Linked DNA regions of Homo sapiens: regions 2 and 3 are each linked to region 1. The links are contacts of gene promoters, found by promoter capture Hi-C in blood cells and fetal thymus (Javierre and others, 2016). All regions are on one chromosome and are shown on one strand. The core of a region is centred on a gene start or on the middle of the fragment in contact, and the rest is flanking DNA. Distances in the headings are between cores, read along the strand shown.

Region 1 (3,552 bases), core at 490-2,989:
TAGGAGTTCATCAGGCCTTCAAGAAAAAAGTTATCTTTTCTCTCAACTCTCTGGAGAACAGCAACAGGGTAAGAAAAATACAACTAAAAACTGAACTGAATTAATCTAACCGGCCACTTTTCACCACTATTTAAACTTTTTGTCTTTCCCGGCGCGGTGGCTCAAGCCTACCACTTTGGGAGGCCAAGGCAGGTGGATCACTTGAGCCCAGGAGTTCCAGACCAGCCTGGGCAGCAAGGTGAAACCCGTCTCTACAAAAATCAGCCAGGAGTGGTGGCTCATGCCTGTACTCCCAGCTACTTGGGGGACTGAGGTAGGAGGACGGCTTGAGGCCAGGAGGCAGAGGTTGCATTGAGCCGAAAAGGAACCACTACACTCCATTCTGGGTGACAGACTGAGACCCTGTCTCAAAAAACAAAATACAACCTTTTGTCTTGATACCCCAGCAACAAAAAGGGGGGCGGGGGTGGGGGGGGAATATTGGTGGAACAACAACAAAAAAAAGCATTAGGAAGAAGAGCCACAAATAATTCAACTGCAAATCTATCTAAAAATACAAGAAAATGCTAGGAATTTGTGATATTCCTGAAGTGAAACCTGTCACTTTCCTCCTTCCTTGAGTCTCCACGTGGCTTACGCATATCAGACAGGACTCAGGCTTCTCAATCTTAGTTATCTATTTGAACAACATTATGTACAAGGATATTCATCCAACTGGGATCTGAATTCAAACTTTTCCACTTTTCTTTCTTCCGTTTTAACGCAGTTCTGGGATTGTTATTCGGTCATTTCTCATCATTATCCAATGACAATTCACTCTAAGTCAGTATTCCTGGTAGTTCCGAGACTTAATGGCCACAAATGTTGAAAAATGTTAGCTCTACGGGAAAACGAATCGAAGCGTTTTCAGGGGCTCGAGTAGTTATGAGCTTAGTGTAGGCCCAAGTTTTAAGCTATAGAAACATCTCCCTGTATGTGCCAACTCAAATCCCCGTCCCTGTAAGAAACCTGGACACCAGCATGATTTTAAACACTTCTACACCTCTCCGTCCTATTTTTCCATGCTCCACGCTCGAAGGAAAACCGCCACCCAAGAAACACACGGAGCTAGCCACCCCGAAGCACTGGAAGGGCGCAATAGTTTTTAGGTCACCCCGCAAAGGCCACAGGTGGCGCCACCCCCCTGCCCCCGCACCGCCGCCCTCCGCCCCGCGCCCCCAGCTTCTCTCCAGCAGCGCACACTTGGAGCAGTCCTTCCCGCGGCCATCCGACCCTGACCCATCGTCCCCGGGACCGGCTGCCGGGCGCGAGGAACCCAGGCCGCGGGGCCTCCTCGCGCCCGCCCGTGCGGCCGCCACGCCCCCTCCCCACAGGCCGTCCGGGCCGCCCGCCCCCTCGGCCGGGAGGTGGCCTCACCTCGCACGGGCCTTGGCGGGGAGGGCGCCCACGTCTCCGCCCGCCGCCCGGGCCCACGGCCGCTCGGCTGCGGCTCGGCCCCGACGGCCGGCGGCGGCGCGCTTCTGGGGGCGGGCTTTTCTCGGCCGGGGCTTCCCCGGGGCCGAGGGCTGGGAAGCAGGGGGGACTGGGACGGGGGAGGGGAAAGGGGCTTGGGAAGGAGGGGGGAGAGGGGAAGAAAAGGGGGGAACCAAACCCGGAAAGGGAGAAAAGGGGGGAGGGGAAAATCAGAAGGGGAAGAAAAGCCCAGAGTCCGCCCCCCGCTGCGGCTGCGCGCTACGTCACTACGTCCGGCGTTGTCGTCACCTCGTCCTGCGTTCCGGCCGTCCCTGCTTCCTGGCTTCCCGCGTGCCCCTCAGCAGCCCTGCGGGGCCTACCGCCTGCCGCACGCACTCCCGCCGGCGCGCGCGCACTCGCACTCGCTCGCTCGCCCTCTCCTCCTTCCGCGTTACCTGTGTCAGGACACCAATCCGGAGTCACTGGGAGCCTCGGTCCTCCTTAAACCCTTCAAGTCTGTCAGATAGAATACCCTGGATTTCAATATAATACTAATAGTGATCATTCTAAAGTAATTTCCATTTACAGAGCACTTTCACTTAGGGCAGTAACTCCTGTACCAAAAGAACGTACACTCGGTATTTGTTGCATACGTGGATAACTATAGTTGAGCAGGTAAATGTCCATTTTACGTAAAGATGAAAAAAACCGACCTAGGAGGAACTCAGTCTGTCCTATTAAGATCACATTCTTACCATCATCCCCTCTCTAAGATACAGTTCTCAAAAATCGTCTTAAATGTCCAGCCTCCCCCGTTTTGTCCATTCTAGGCAGAATCAATTTAGTTATTGATTATGTGTGTGTGGATAATTTACTGACCAAACTCCCTCAAAGAAGCAATGTAGTCTTTTGTAGAATTCGACCATTAAATATTTACCTTGTGACAGAAACTGCGGTAGGCAAAAAAAGTCAAATAATTATAGTACAATTTAAGTGCTATAATAGAAAGGTTTAAATGTGCTATGGAAACACAAGGAACAGCAATTCGTTCTTAGCGGTAAAAGAGATTGAGTAAGTTACAGAGAAACTACAGGTGAAACTCCAGCTAATCTTGAGACTATAAATAGTTCACTAGAGAGGTAAGAATGGAGATTCCAGCAAAGTCATAGAGGCATGAAGTTCATCTTTCCTTCAAGGATGAGCAAGTTCCAGGTTGGTTGGCGTTTTTTGTTTGTTTGTTTGTTTGTTTTATTTATTTTGAGATGGGGTCTCGCTTTGTCACCCAGGCAACTAGATTGCAGTGGTGCAATGTCGGTTCACTACAACCTTCACCTCTCAGGTTCAAGTGATTCTCCTGCCTCAGCGTCCGGAGTAGCTGGGACTACAGGCACGCACCATCACACCCGGCTATTTTTTGTATTTTTAGTAGAGACGGGGTTTTGCCATGTTGGCCAGGCTAATCTCGAACTCCTGGCCTCAGGTGATCCACCCGCCTCGGCCTTCCAAAGTTCTGGGATTACAGGTGTGAGCCACCTTGCCCAGCCCTCTCTCCTGGTCATCACTGCCTCCTGCCCCCAAATTCTCTCAACCCTCTAGAGAACAACAACGGGGGAAGAAAAATACAACTGAACTGAACTGATCTAACCTGCCACTTTTCACCACGATTTAAACTTTTTGTCTTGGCCGGGCGCAGTGGCTCACACCTAGCACTTTGGGAGGCCAAGGCAGGTGGATCATTTGAGCTCAGGAGTTCCAGACCAGGCAGTGATGACCAGTAGGAAATAATAGCTAATATTTGTATTATGTGTATGTAAGTACAATATAAAATGTGTAGCATTCTACATCTATTGTTAGTATCAAATCCTCAATACAATAGGTACTATTATTATACCTGTTTTATAGATGAGGAAACCTGAGGCACAATAATGAAACCAAAGTTCCAGATTTTTTTTTATTTTTTTTGAGACGGAGTCTTGCTCTGTCGCCCAGGCTGGAGTGCAGTGGCATGATCTCAGCTCACTGCAACCTCCACCTCCCGGGTTCAAGTGATTCTCCTGCCTCAGCCTCTCAGGTAGCTGGGACTACAGGCATGTGCCACCA
Region 2 (3,450 bases), core at 617-3,116, 910 kb before region 1:
CTACTAAAAATACAAAAAAATTAGCCGGGCATGGTGGCGCATGCCTATAGTCTCAGCTACTCGGGAGGCTGAGGCAGGAGAATCGCTTGAACCCGGGACGCAGAGGTTGCGGTGAGCCAAGATAGCACCACTGCACTCTAGCCTGGGCAACAGAGCAAGACTCTGTCTCAGAAAAAAAAAAAGATATCACTGAGTGATGCCTTCATTTATTTATTTACTGCATTTGGCTGCTGTGTTTCCAGTCTCAGTTGCAATTCCCACACTGAGGCTCTCCCACCCTTCCTGTGTCCCCTGAGCTGAGCAGGCACTTCCTGTCCTATTGGAAATGAAAGTTAGAGATTGGGGGTAGGGTATGTATATTTACTCTGCAGAATACTAATACTGTCTGTTCCATTATCATAGCAAAAAAGTGACACGGAAACTAGAATAGAGACCAGAACTTCATTTGAGGGAGGGTTTGGGCTTAATATTTGTTGTCACAAAACAGACAGGGTTAATTTATATCTCAAGAAACTACTTAGGATGGCAGCAAGGTGGCCTTATGAAGGGATTTGAAGGCTTTCATTTAACATCCCTATTGCACTTGGATTGGTAGGGGTTACTGGATATCATTCTTAAGTTTTTGGTTTCCTTTCTTGTTAAGGTTACGCCTACAAAGACATTCTTTGGAAACTAGTAGAGGTAAGTGTTGCAACTCTATTAGGTTCTTGACTCTGAAATTTGTATTCCTTCCTAAGAATTTTGTGTTTTTATTCTGTTGAAGCATATGCTTCTTAAGTATTTTTTTTTTTTAAACAGCTCAAAGACAACTCAAAGCAGACATCCCAACTGTAGACTTCAATTTAGACATAAACTCCAGGTTTGGTGAGTTACTGTAATTGTTTCAGTTTCATGGATCTTAAAGATGAGGAAATAGCAGGGTAAAGTGTTAAATAAGATAGCCTGCAATTGTTAGAGAAATAACAAGGCACCAAGTTTCATGATATAGTCCAGTCTGATAATTCCTTCTTAAGTATGAACTCATTCCTCGGAGAATCTGAAATAGGAGTGAGGGGCATCAGCCCATTGGTATGACCCAAGAGAAACACATCTAAGGATCTGAAACTAGTTATACCCCATACTCTGTTTTGCTTAGCTCTGCTCTTTGGTGTGTTCCTCTGTTTGTTCCTTTGTACATTAAGATCACTATAAATGGGCCAGGGGTGGTGGCTCATGCCTGTAATCCCAGCACTTTGGGAGGTTGAGTGGGTGGATCACTTGAGGTCAGGAGTTCGAGACCAGCCTGGCCAAGATGGCGAAACCCCGTCCCTACTAAAAAATACAAAAATCAGCTGGGTGTGGTGGTGGTCACCTGTAATCCCAGCTACTCGAGAGGCTGAGGCAGGAGAATTGCGGAAGGTGGAGGTTGCAGTGAGCCGGATCCGGGATTGCACCACTGCACTTCAGCCTGGGTGACAGACTAAAACTCTGTCTCAAAAAAAAAAAAAAAAAATCACTGTAAGTGTAAAGTAGGGGAAGCCCTGAGCTTATCTCACACACTCTAACTCTGTTTTTTTTTTTTTTTTTTTTTGCGTGTTCTCCAAGGCAATGTCTCAGGAGCCCCTTTAAAATCAAGCTTGAAATCTTATAGCTGAGATCTAAGGGTGGAAATAAAGCCCTCATTGTCTTTATATGAGAATCGGAACTTGTTCATAGAGGAAAGGGGATAAATTTGAAAGGGGTTAGACCTAAGAACTCTTCTTTCTAGCTTTAACTCCTGAGACTATGAAAAACAAACAAAAAAAAACATCTTGGGCATTAGGACCCAGTGGAAGTGCCTCTGCCTCATTCAGACTCTGTTAACTTCTCTCAGTGACGTAAAGGAGCAGCCCGAGCTCATTCTCTGCCCGCAGCCCCCCTTCATCTCTCTCCTCCTGCTCCTTTTCTCCTCCTTTCTCCTCCCCCTCCCTTTTTTCCTCCCTCCCTCTCCCCCTTTCCCTCGCTCCCCTCCTCCCTCCCTCCCCGTCTTTCTTACCCCCTCCCTTTCTCTCTCTCTCTCTCTCTCGCTCGTTCCCTAACATTAAAGAGAAAATGCTGCTATCCGTGACTTCCAGGCCCGGGATTTCGACTTTTGGCTACAATAGAAACAACAAGAAGGTAGGGAAAAGCGCTTTTTTGGTATCTAGCTACTTCTTTTTCTGGGGATCTTGCAATGCCCTTGGTTTTTACATTCTTTTTAAAGAGGGGAAGGGGCTTCCTCTCTCAAGATTCCTAATTCCTCACCGCGCTTCTCCCTTTTCCACTACTGCTTTCTGCATCTTTCCTCAACTGGTTCTGGAGTTCAGGGAACTTTCAGTCTCTGCGAGGCCTGAAAAGACAGGGGAATTAAAAACAAATCAAGCTTGCAAGTTTGTATCCTTATGAAATGAAGTTAGTTTGACTTCCTGCTGATGTATCAATCTCCACAAGGATAATATGTCATTTCAGACCCTGTCCCCCAGTCCACCCCACCCCACAAGATTATTTTATTTTTTGATTAACTGTTTCCATTCTCTCCCCAACCTTCCCTCCTACCCATACCACCAGTAGTATTAGATAGCTGAAATCATAGATAGTCAGAGAAACCACAACAGTTTATCAAGAGCTGGGTATACTCTTCTAGACTACAGATCCTACCCCACCCAGCCTATAGAGAAGGAGTCTTGAGAGACATCGCACCTTGGGATTAAGGCACAGAGCGCTGTGATACTTTGGATCTTGTATTTGAACTGATACTTGGACCTCTGCAGATAGCCAGACTTTGCAGTGATCCTAGGAGTCTTTATGATTAACCCATGGCTGCCAGAGAATTGTGCTGTCCTTGGGCACATGGGGAGAGATGGACAATCTTGTCCATATTTGACAAGGAATATATTTGGCAGTTTCTGGCATTTCAGGGCGCACAGCATACTGATTAGGAGGAATTTCATGCTGTAGCAGGAAGAAGACTCTTTACCCTCTCTTTGTGTTGTAGCTGTTCTTTGAAGAAAAAATGTGACATAGACATTTAGGGAATCTTTTGCTCATCTAATGGAATGTTGGAGGGTGAGGAACGATTCCTGCTGCTTTCTCATGTACCTAATGAGACCATTAGAGGTGGATTTAAACACAAGTGTCTGATCAATGCAGTGGGTAAATGTTTAGACCCAAAACACTTAATGTTGATTTATGGGCTTAGTCTGTGTGGTACTCATTTTGTTTATATCCTGAAGAAATATGGGTAGAGGGGAGAGGAAATGGGGAGCTATAGGTCAGAGGATACAAAGTAGTAGATATGTAGGATGAACAAATCCTGAGATCCAATGTACAACATGAGGACTATAGATGATAAAGTTGTACTGTATATGGGATTCATGCTAAATGAGCAGACTTTAGCTCCTCTTGCCACAAAAAGAAACAAAAGGGACAATTATGTGGGATGATTAATTTACT
Region 3 (3,567 bases), core at 231-2,730, 980 kb before region 1:
CACGTGGCCAGGAGTCAGGTGCGTAAGAGATTTACAAAATGAGATTGAGAGGGTCAGGGCCAGACTGAGAGGCCACAGACACCCACCTACGGATTTAAGGCTAACTGTGGGTGGTCAAAGAGGAGTTTTAAATTTAACATCAGATGATCTACCTTTACTTTGTACAAAGTACTAGTAGGGCCGGGTGTGGTGGCTCACACCCGTAATCCCAGCACTGTGGGAGGCCGACGCGGGCGGATCATTTGAGGTCAGGAGTTCGAGACCGGCCTGGCCAACATGGTGAAACCCCATCTCTACTAAAAATACAAAAATTAGCCGGGCGTGGTGGCGGGCAGCTGTAATCCCAGCTCCTGGGGAGGCTGAGGCAGGAGAATCGCTTGAACTGGGGAGGCGGAGGTTGCAGTGAGCCGAGATCGGACCACTGCACTCCAGCCTGGGCGACAGAGCCAGACTCCATCTCAAAAACAAAACAAAACAAAACAACCAAAAAAAACAAACAGGCCAGGCGCGGTGGCTCACGCCTATAATCCCAGCACTTTGGGAGGCCGAGGCGGGCGGATCACGAAGTCAGGAGTTTGAGATCATCCTGACCAATAAGGTGAAACCCCCATCTCTACTAAAAAAAATACAAAAATTAGCCGGGCATGGTGGCGCGCGCCTGTAATCCCAGCTACTCAGGAAGCTGAGGCAAGAGAATCGCTTGAACCCGGGAGGCGGAGGTTGCAGTGAGCCGAGATGGCGCCACTGCACTCCATCCTGGGCGACAGAACGAGACTCCGTCTCAAAATAAAATAAAATAAATAAAAAATTGAAAGTACTAGTCGAAGCACGAATGGCAAAGAATTGAGAGGCTCAAGGAAAAAAGCTTCATTAGCGGCTGAGGTCCAGGTGACAAACCCGAACAAGGCAACGAAGGGAGGGAGTGAGAAATCCGTTCCATAAAACCCACGATATAAGTAAAGCGGCCTGTGAATTCCGACCACTGCTGACCGCCAGGCCACACACCGGTTTTTTTCAGGAGGTCTCAACTAGATGCTAAGCTCCGAAGTGGAACTCCCTCAGGCACTTTCTGTTCTAATTCAGGAATTCCAAGCCCCTTTCCATCACAACCCCATCCCGCGGGAGACCCAAGCTGTGCGGAGCAGCGTAGGGCTAAGCCCGCGTCCGGTGAGACCCGGGAACGCGGCGCGGGAGACTAAGGAGCAGAGTACAGAATTGCGCGTGCGCGCCTGCAGCACGAGCCCCGCCCCCTGGCTCTAAACCGGGTGGCGGGAAAAGGGACTCAGCGTTTCCCGAGAATGCCCCCATAGCTTCGAAAGGATCCCCGTGTCCGCTTAGCGCCCTCTCGCCACACACTCACTCACCCGCTCCCTGCGGGTCCTCAGAAGCCCGGAGGAGCCACCGGCCCTCTGGCGCGGGGCCGCAGCCTTTCCGCCACCAGGCTCAGCTGGACCGGTCCCCGCCTGCGCGAAGAGCGAGGCGGGGCGAGCCGGGCTGGTCCACGTGACTCCGAGCGAACTGGGGCGGAGATTGGTGAAGAAGGAAGGAAAAGGGAAGCGAGTGCAGGGACTGTTTTATGTGAGGTCGATCTAAAAATCACAGCGCTATGAATTTTCTGCTGAATTATAGTAGAATCAAAGTCCGATTAGAGGTGAATTTACAAACATTCTTCCCCTTCTTCTAGTCAAGCGGACTATTCCAAGTCTTAAATAGTTAGTTAGAAAAGTTAGGTTTTATTTGGGAGGAAGTAAAGAGCTGAAGTACAGGGAGGAATGGTCTTCTGGGATAGGGGATGTCCGTTGTATTATAGGTATAAATTTAAAGCTTTCAAAGTATGCAAGAGGCTCATAAAAGGAAGAAAGCAACCGTAAATATTCATTGAACAGTTGAGGGTCTCTTCTGGCCTCTGCTGAGATGATCTTGCCAAAAGGAAAAGAAAATAGGGCTGTGCTCTGGCCCCCTGTAATCCCAGCTACTGGGGAGGCTGAAGCAGGAAGATCGCTTGAGCCCAGGATTTCTAGACTGTAGTGTGCGATGATCGTGCCTGTGAATATCCATTGCACTCCAACCTGGTCAACATAGTAAGACCCCCTCTCAAAAAAAAAAAGAAGATAGGGCTCAAACAAATAATAATCTCCTGAATTATTAAGCATTTGAATAGAAGGAATCAATTTCTGGGGTATGAGGGAGTTAGAAGAGATTTGCTTCAAGATGAAAGGACGGATGACAGAGAAATGAAAATACACAGACACAAAACAAGAAAAAAAACACGGAACTAGTGATAAAAGCAGAAAGATGCCATTTGAGGAGTGTTTTGATTTGCTCTAAATAAATTAGAACAGAGTCAAAGCCTCTCCCCTCATGCCCCCTACTACCACCCGTTCATTTATTTGCTCCAGGAATCAGATTTCCTGTGTTGGCCTTAGGGAACAATTGTGGGGCTTAAATACCATCTGCCAGGCAGCCACAACAGTGGATGTCAGGCTGACCAGTTAAGCTGCTTAATTTTTCTAGATTCTAGGCTTGCCCAAGCTCTATTTAGGTTGGAAGCTCTTTGGCCCAGGACCTCTGAAGAGATCCATTATGTCAGAATGAACACAACCAGCCAGCGGATGTAGACAGGTTTACGTGGCTTTACAGAACAGCTAAATCCTAGTGTTCACTTTTCTCAGAGCTACTTCCCCACCCAAGTCCCTGGGGCAAGCATCCCTAAGATAAGTAGGCTATATATTCCCATTAACTTCCCCCCAATTCTTCGGTACACCTACATCCTGATCTGGGGCTAATACTCCGTTTTCACCACCCACCTCCCTTGAGTCCCTTCTCCTAACCCTTGGAAGCCTTGTCTCCTCCACTTCTCTCCATCTGCCTCGTGTGAGGAGTAACTCCCTGCTTCTCTGTTCCCTCAGAAATCAAGAGCCACACACTTGACTGGCAGCAGGGTAAAGGCCAGAAACTTAAGGTGTCGGTTACCCAGTACTCACCATACTGGGTCGAGGAAGGGAGGTATAGGATGGCACCTCTTTTTGCTTCCTTAGCTCTCATGCCCCAAAACTCAGACACAGCCACACTCACATTCATATGCACAATCAGCACACACGGCGAAGGGTGGTGGGATGGGGAGGAAGGGAAGTTTGCACCAACCAGCTCATGAATGCAACTTGAAAGATTTCACACAGCAAAAGGAAAAAAAAAAAAAAAACAACCACATACATAAGTTAAAAAATAAAGAAGTACATGACCCTCCCCACAGTCTCTTTCTTCATCTAGGGGCTGGCTAAACCCCTCCACGTAAACTCAGAAGCTTTCTACTCCCTCTATTCAGCTGGAGCTTCTACAGGGCCTGGGTGTTCAGTTCAACAGGTTCCCCTGTGACCTCTGGTTGTCCATTGGAGACATCGGGTTTGGCACCCTTGAGGACAGACAGTCTCTCAGAAATACTCTTGAGCCGGGGGAAGAGAAGAAAGTCGTACAGGAGGCTGCCCAGACCCCCTCCAATGATTGGGCCTACCCAGTACACCTGTAGAAAGAGAAAAGGAATACTCAGGCTTGGGGAGGGGACAGAGT

The links. Contacts are between HindIII fragments. The CHiCAGO score rates a contact against its expected background, and 5 or more counts as called.
Region 2: a contact is called between the fragment with the promoter of RBMS2 here and the fragment with the promoter of R3HDM2 in region 1, in 8 of 17 cell types (total B cells, naive CD8 T cells, activated CD4 T cells and 5 more). The highest score is 12.1, in total B cells.
Region 3: the fragment with the promoter of TIMELESS here is called in contact with the fragment with the promoter of R3HDM2 in region 1 in 5 of 17 cell types (monocytes, fetal thymus, non-activated CD4 T cells and 2 more); the score reaches 12.1 in monocytes.

Annotation. Positions count from the first base shown.
Region 1 is chr12:57,429,304-57,432,855 of GRCh38, forward strand. R3HDM2 (R3H domain containing 2) reads right to left here and starts at 1,740. Exons shown (of 24, transcript NM_001394031.1): 1 at 1,417-1,740. It overlaps R3HDM2-DT (R3HDM2 divergent transcript), which reads left to right and starts at 1,813. Exons shown (of 2, transcript NR_185976.1): 1 at 1,813-2,127. RefSeq lists an enhancer at 882-991 and a silencer at 1,172-1,641. The HindIII fragment of the contact is 10,065 bases long and covers 1-3,552 here.
Region 2 is chr12:56,519,954-56,523,403 of GRCh38, forward strand. RBMS2 (RNA binding motif single stranded interacting protein 2) reads left to right here and starts at 1,867. Exons shown (of 14, transcript NM_002898.4): 1 at 1,867-2,136. The coding sequence starts at 2,071. RefSeq lists an enhancer at 2,302-3,045. The HindIII fragment of the contact is 765 bases long and covers 1,614-2,378 here.
Region 3 is chr12:56,447,946-56,451,512 of GRCh38, forward strand. It overlaps TIMELESS (timeless circadian regulator), which reads right to left and starts at 1,481. Exons shown (of 29, transcript NM_003920.5): 1 at 1,365-1,481. It overlaps MIP (major intrinsic protein of lens fiber), which reads right to left. Exons shown (of 4, transcript NM_012064.4): 4 at 1,557-3,520. The coding sequence ends at 3,335. RefSeq lists enhancers at 362-882, 905-1,024, 1,135-1,224. The HindIII fragment of the contact is 959 bases long and covers 864-1,822 here.